2 separate regions of the Homo sapiens genome follow, and region 1 is linked to region 2. Evidence: promoter capture Hi-C in 16 types of primary human blood cells and fetal thymus (Javierre and others, 2016). All regions are on one chromosome and are shown on one strand. The core of a region is centred on a gene start or on the middle of the fragment in contact, and the rest is flanking DNA. Distances in the headings are between cores, read along the strand shown. Region 1 holds the start of RASA1 (RAS p21 protein activator 1). Region 2 overlaps XRCC4 (X-ray repair cross complementing 4).

Evidence for each region. Contacts are between HindIII fragments. The CHiCAGO score rates a contact against its expected background, and 5 or more counts as called.
Region 1: a contact is called between the fragment with the promoter of RASA1 here and a fragment that was not itself captured in region 2, in 1 of 17 cell types (M2 macrophages). The highest score is 6.2, in M2 macrophages.

What each region holds. Positions count from the first base shown.
Region 1 is chr5:87,265,775-87,269,132 of GRCh38, reverse strand. It overlaps RASA1 (RAS p21 protein activator 1), which reads right to left and starts at 1,250. Exons shown (of 25, transcript NM_002890.3): 1 at 143-1,250. The coding sequence starts at 681. RefSeq lists enhancers at 479-528, 286-1,173, 1,227-1,521 and silencers at 709-888, 1,229-1,478. The HindIII fragment of the contact is 5,594 bases long and covers 1-3,358 here.
Region 2 is chr5:83,080,343-83,083,350 of GRCh38, reverse strand. All of the region lies in intron 1 of XRCC4 (X-ray repair cross complementing 4), which reads right to left. Among named protein-coding and RNA genes, the nearest start is that of XRCC4, 4.3 kb to the right of the region's middle. The HindIII fragment of the contact is 2,083 bases long and covers 256-2,338 here.

The DNA.
Region 1 (3,358 bases), core at 1-2,500, 4.2 Mb before region 2:
ATTCCTACCCAAGAAACCTGAAACTTCAAAAACTTTTCCTAACAAACCACAGATGAAAAGGACAAAGTATGATTTACCCCTTCATTTCCACTTCTTTTCTGGAGCCAGCTTCCCAAATTCCTGAACAGCAGTCTTAACTTACTGGTTAGTTGGAGGAGCGGTCAACGGTATGGCCACCTCTTCCTCCTCGTATTCTGGTCCATCCAGAGAGTCACCTTCGTCCACTGTCCCGAGGCCCGCCCCCAAAGGGGGCAGGTAAGGGGGAGGGGGCAGAGGGGGAAAACCGCCGCCTGGCCCGAGAGTCTCAGCAAGCAACGAAGTGGGCAGTTTGGTGAGAGCCATGTCTCCACTAGGTCCAGCAACAGCAGCACCGGCCACGCCAGCAGCAGCACCAGCTACGCCAGCAGCAGTACCTCCCCCTGTCAGTCCAGCTCCCCCCAGTGCCCCTGCCACAGACCCGGCTCCTAGGAACTCTGACCCCAAAGCGGCTCCGCCACCCAGAGTTCCAGCCACTCCGGTCTCCACCAGCCCAGGATAGGGGGCGGCTGCCACAGGCAGGGCCGCGGGTATCTTCACCCGACACACTGCGGGATAGGCACTGGAGCCCGCTGCCGCGCCGCCTCCTCCAGCTCCGGCTGTTACCGGGCCGCCCTCCTCACTGCCGGCCTCGGCCGCCATCATGTTGAAGCCCGCTCTACTCTGCCCTACCCTGCCCGCCCGGGAGCCCCAGGGGCCACCAGGCCCGGGCTCCGAGCAGCCCCACCCAGACGCGTCTCCCCTTCAGCTCCCCAGGCTGAGGAAACAACAACAAAAGGAGAGAGCCCGCCGCCGCGCCCCCTCCTAGGGCCACAGCCCAGGCTCCCCAGCTGCCTGGGTTACGGGAAGCCAAGTGGGCAAAAAACCCAACGCCTGCACAAACGCCACCCAAACCTCACCGCACACACCCACACTCACGCACACAAACACATGTACAGAAGCGAAAACTTCCTCGCTGCACTAAAGAGGAAAGGAAGCACAGGGAAAGAGGCTGAGGCTGCTACCGCTCCTTCAGCCGCCACCACCGCTTCTTCACCACCCCAGTTCCGGCCACCCACACCGCAGCCACCGCCGGTGCCGCTGCTGAGGCTGGGGCCACTGCAGCCGCTTCATCCTCCACCAGGCAGATGAGAGGGGTGGGGGGGCAAGAGAAAGGGGGGCGGGGTAACGAGGAAATCGACTGAACTGCTCACTACCTGGAGCTCTCAGTGAGTGAAACGGGAGAGAGAGAAAGGAAGGCGGGGCAGGGGAGGAGGGACGGAGGGAAGGAAGGGCGGAGAAGGGAGAGGGCAGCTTGTGCGCAGGCGCGTTCCCGGAGCGGGGGCGGGGGGCCGGGCCGGGAGGAAAAGGAAGAGTCCAGAGGGAAGGAAGCGGCGGGGACGCGCGGTGCGTGGTCGCGCTTGCTGTCCTCCTCCGGTTCCAAGCGTGTGGCGGCGCGGCCGCATCTCCTGTTGGCGTGGCCGGCGGCGCGCGCCTGTCTCCCGGGGCTTTGTTTGATGGGCGGGAGAAGAGGGAAGGGTACCTGAGCACGCGGGTGCTTGGCGCTGTTAAAGCCGGAGAGACCAGAGGGGGACCAGGAGGCGGTGGAGAGGAAGGAGGGGGAAAGGGAAAGGAAAATGCCCAGAAACTAGTTCCGTACTTCCTGACCAGTGGAAAAAACAGCCTTAACCAGCAGCGCAGAAACCGGGCAGGGGTCAGGTAGCTTTGAAGATCGGGGCAGTACTATTAATGTTTTCTTTTTCGTTGCATGCTATAAATCACTATGACTATCTCACACACACACAGTTAAAATAGATTCTGAAACTCCAAAACGAAATAAAGGGCACCATATGAGAAGGGTGAAGAATTTGAGTAGAAATAGTGGTTATGAAGTAAGATTTCTACCAGTATTTGCATACGTTTTTCTTTATCAACTGTCTCATATACTTACCTATGCCATTATAAGTCTGTTGGATACTGATGAAGAGGAGGAGGTGCCACAGAAAACACTAATCAATGCACTTTTGTCCTGGTTTGTGTGCAAAAGACTGCAGGACGTGATCCACAATGCAAGCACCTTCAACAAGTCAAATGTCAAGAATGTCCCAGAATGCTAGTTATAATTATATATCGTTTCAAAAGTAGCAATAAACTGAAAACTCATTTTTAATACAATTAAGGAGAAGGGTGTTATTTTGTCTTTTACACTAAAATGTATACAAACTATGCATTCATGTAGAGGGAGCTTCCCATGGTTTGAAATTAACAATATTGTTAAATTCTCCCAGGAGTGATCCCACATTAAATACCATTGGATATTGATCTTTGAGATCAATATTTTCTGTGCTAAGGATGATCAAACTAACACTCAGGATGGCAAGTGGCTGTGATAGAAACCCAGGAAAAAGAGAAAAGACCACTAAAAGACGTGACAAGATACAGGCAATGCATTGCCTTTGTAAGTTTGCACAGGCCTATTTACCTAGTCAATGACAACAATCCAACTTGATTAGGAGTAGTCCTGGGGCCTCCATTACGCATATCTCTTAGCAGTGTGCTACCTGGGAGAAGGAAGATGGACCAGTCACAGGAGCTAGAGTTCTCAAAGTGAATTCAGGCCGCAACATCCTAGGAATTCAGAAATGCCACCTCAGACCTTCTGAATCAGAAAATATGCAGCGATCCATTTTAACAAACCCTCCAAGTGATTGTTTGCACACTTAAGTTTGAGAACCACTATATTAATGTATAGTATACTAATCAAGAAGGAGGTATGCAATACCTAAAAACGGTTCTGAAAGAAATAATAAATGTCATTCATTAGGTGGGTAGGTAAAATAGGCGGGTTTTGAGTTGCCAAGCTCTGTGCTGTTCTAGAAATGAGAATGAAGTAGTTCCATAATACTTAATAATGAAGTACTACTTATGGTGGCCTCCCTGAGAACAGTTTTCTTTTAAACTTAGACCCTCAGTTAGACAAGACTATCAAAATACCTACTCTACTTACTGTCTGCTGTGTGAACACCAAGTGCAACAATCCCAACAAATCTTAATATAGCCTGTGCTTGAAAACCTCCAGTGTGTTAGCATCCCAATCCTCCAACATTCCTGTCCCAGTCACCACTGTCAGCCCTTGAATGCAGGACATTGAACTGGCAGGTTATCACCGGCTCTTGGTTATCACTGATTTCTAAATGTTCACACACCCTCTGTATGTTGCCTGGGAGTCCAGGTGAGGCTCACTACTCTTACTGCAGAATTACCTCCTCCTTTTTGACAATTCTTTAGCACTTGTAAAGGTCAATATTTAATGCAGTCTAACACCTATCAAATGCTCAATTAA
Region 2 (3,008 bases), core at 48-2,547:
TCAGTCATTCATTCAAACAAAACCTACTGAGTACTTCTATGCCTCAGACAAATGCTTTAGAATGTGGCATAAGACAACAAAACAGATAAAAATGCCTGCCTTCATGGATTTTACATTTTAATAGGGGAACACAATTAAAAATACATGTAACAAATATGTAATACATATATAGAATAATGATAAGCGCTGAAGTAAAAAGAGGAGATAAAACAGGGTGGAGGAGATAGGGGTAGGGGCTATGGAAGTTGCAAAGCTTCAATTTAAATAGGGAGGTTGGGATATGCTTTACTGCAAAGGTGACATTTGAACAACATGTAAAAGCTATGAAGGAATAGCTGTATGGATCCAAAAGCATTCTAGAAAGAAGCAGCAGTCAGTGCAAAGGCCCTGTGGTAGAAGTAGGCCTAGTGTACTTAAGAAACAGGGTGGTAAGTATGGCTGGAACAAAGGGAGAGAGAATACAAAGACATGTAGTCAGAGAGGTAATGGGAGACCAGATCATGTAGAGCAGAGGTGTCCAATCTTTTGACTTCCTTAGGCCACACTGGAGGAAGAATTGTCTTGGGCCACACATAAAATACACTAACACTAATGATACCTAAAGGGCTCAAAAAAAAAAAAATCTCATAATGTTTTAAGAAAGTTTACAAATTTGTGGTGGGCCGCATTCAAAGCCATCATAGGCCACAGGCAGCCTGTGAGCTGTAAGTTGGACAAGACTGATGTAGACTATTGTAGGCCAACGTAAGGCTGTTAGCTTCTACTATGAATCAAATGATTCACGAAAGGTTTTTAAGCAAAAAAGTAATGTTTTATTCTTCTGTATATTATTTTGAAATAATTCTGAATTTACAGAAGGGTTACAAAGATAATAGAAAGTTCTCATATACCCCTCACCCAATTTCTTCTAATATTAACATCTTATACTACCACGGTGCATTTATCAAAACCAGGAAACCAACACTGATACATTTCTATCAACTAAACCATAGACTTTATTTGGATTTCACCAGTTTTTCCATTAATAACCTCTTTCTGTTTCAGGATCCAATCTAGCATAACATATTGCATTTAGAATCTTACATGTAAATACACAATTTTTTATTTATATTTTAAAAGTATCACTCTGGCTGACATATGAGAATAGACTGTAGGGAGGCAAGGACTGAAAAAAGCAGAGAGAACAGAACACAATTACTATAATCCAGGCAAGAAATGATAGTGGGTAATAACAAAAATCTGAGCAAGAGATGATCAGTATACTAATAGCAGAAATAGTAGAAAACTGTTGAATTCTAGATATATTTCATAGAAAAAGCCAACAGATTTGTTGGAATACAAGAGAAAGGAAGGAGTCAAGGATGACTCCAAAGATTTAACTGAGCAACTGGCTGTATAAAGTTGCCATCAATTCAGATGAGAAAGAATGGGAAAGGTTTGGGAGGAAAGGAGTTCGGTCTGGGACATCTGAGTTCAAGATATCTTTTAAATATACCAATGAAGATGCAGAGGTAGAAAAAGAGGAATTGGAACATGGAGCATAGAAAACTCTTTAGAGGATTTTTGTTGCAGAGAAGAGCAAACAAATGGGGTTGAAAATGGAGAAAGGTTAAGAGAAACATTTCTTAAGGTAAAAGAAATAAGACATACATTAAATAGAAGTGTCTTTTTTGGTGAAACTTCTTTTTTTAAAAAATGTTAATGTGTATATTTGAGGTTTACAAGTTGACATTATAGGATACACACAGATAGTAAAATGGTTATTTTAGTCAAGGAGATTAACACCTATCATCTATCTTATTTTTTGTGTGTGACAAGGGCAGCTGAAACTCTACTTATTTAACAAAAATCCCTAACAGAATAAAACTGTATTAACTTTGGTCCTCAAGTACATTTCAGTCTGAATTGAAAAGCCATGTGGGAAGGGAATAAAAACAAGGGGGGAGAAAAAAAGGACAAACACTGGAACATGAAAAACCTCTACCTGAGGTTAGGGAGGCTAGCTGAGGATAAGAGGAAAAAAGCAGAACAATTGTCTTTCAATATATGTGAATAACAGTGAATGAAAAAAGGTAGGTAATGTAAAAGGTAATGTAAATCAACCCTATCATTAACACTAGCAACAAAGTAAAAAGAGAAAATGGGGAGAAAGTGGTCTGGTGATACAAATGCAATACCAACTTAATACTAAAACCTTTTATAGCAGTCCTCTCCTTATCCAAGGGTGTATATCCCAAGGCCCCGTGAGGAGGCTGAATCCAACTGCCTTCAATCTGAGCATGCTTCTGTTCACATTTTCTAACCACAAATTTAATTCCTTTTTTATCTTAACTAAGCTTTTATAATGCACTATGGCTATAAGTTTGGCAGTTTGAGGTGTGACAGTAAAACTAGCATAAATTTCTTTTTGCTTATTCACAATTTTACAGATAGATTTGTTCTTACCATAGTTCTTAACAACATCAACATAGGATTTCTTTTCTTCCTTATTAAGTGGAGAACTTTCCTTTTTTTGCTTAAAAGAGGCACTTTACAGCTACTCTTTGGCATAACCAAATTGCCAGCGTCGTTACTCTTGTGCTTTGAAGCAATAATTAAGTAAAATAAGTATTCCTAGAACACACGCACTGTGATACCACCTCCATCAATCTGATAACCAAGCAACTAAAAGGCAGGAAGCTTATACAGCAGGGATACGCTAAACAAGGAGATGATTCATGGCCCCGGGCTGAATGGGATAGGATGGAATAAGATTTCATCACAACTCAGAAAGGCATGCTATTTAAAATGTATGCATTATTTCTGGAATTTTTTTTTTTTTTTTTGAGATGGAGTCTCGCTCTGTTGCCCACGCAGGAGTACAGTGGCACAATCTCGGCTCACTGCAGCCTCCACCTCCCGGGTTCAATTGATTCTCCTGCCTCAGCCTCCTGACTAGCTGGGACTACAGGCACATGCCACCACGCCTGGCTAATTTTTGTATATTAGTAGAGATGGGGTTTCACCAT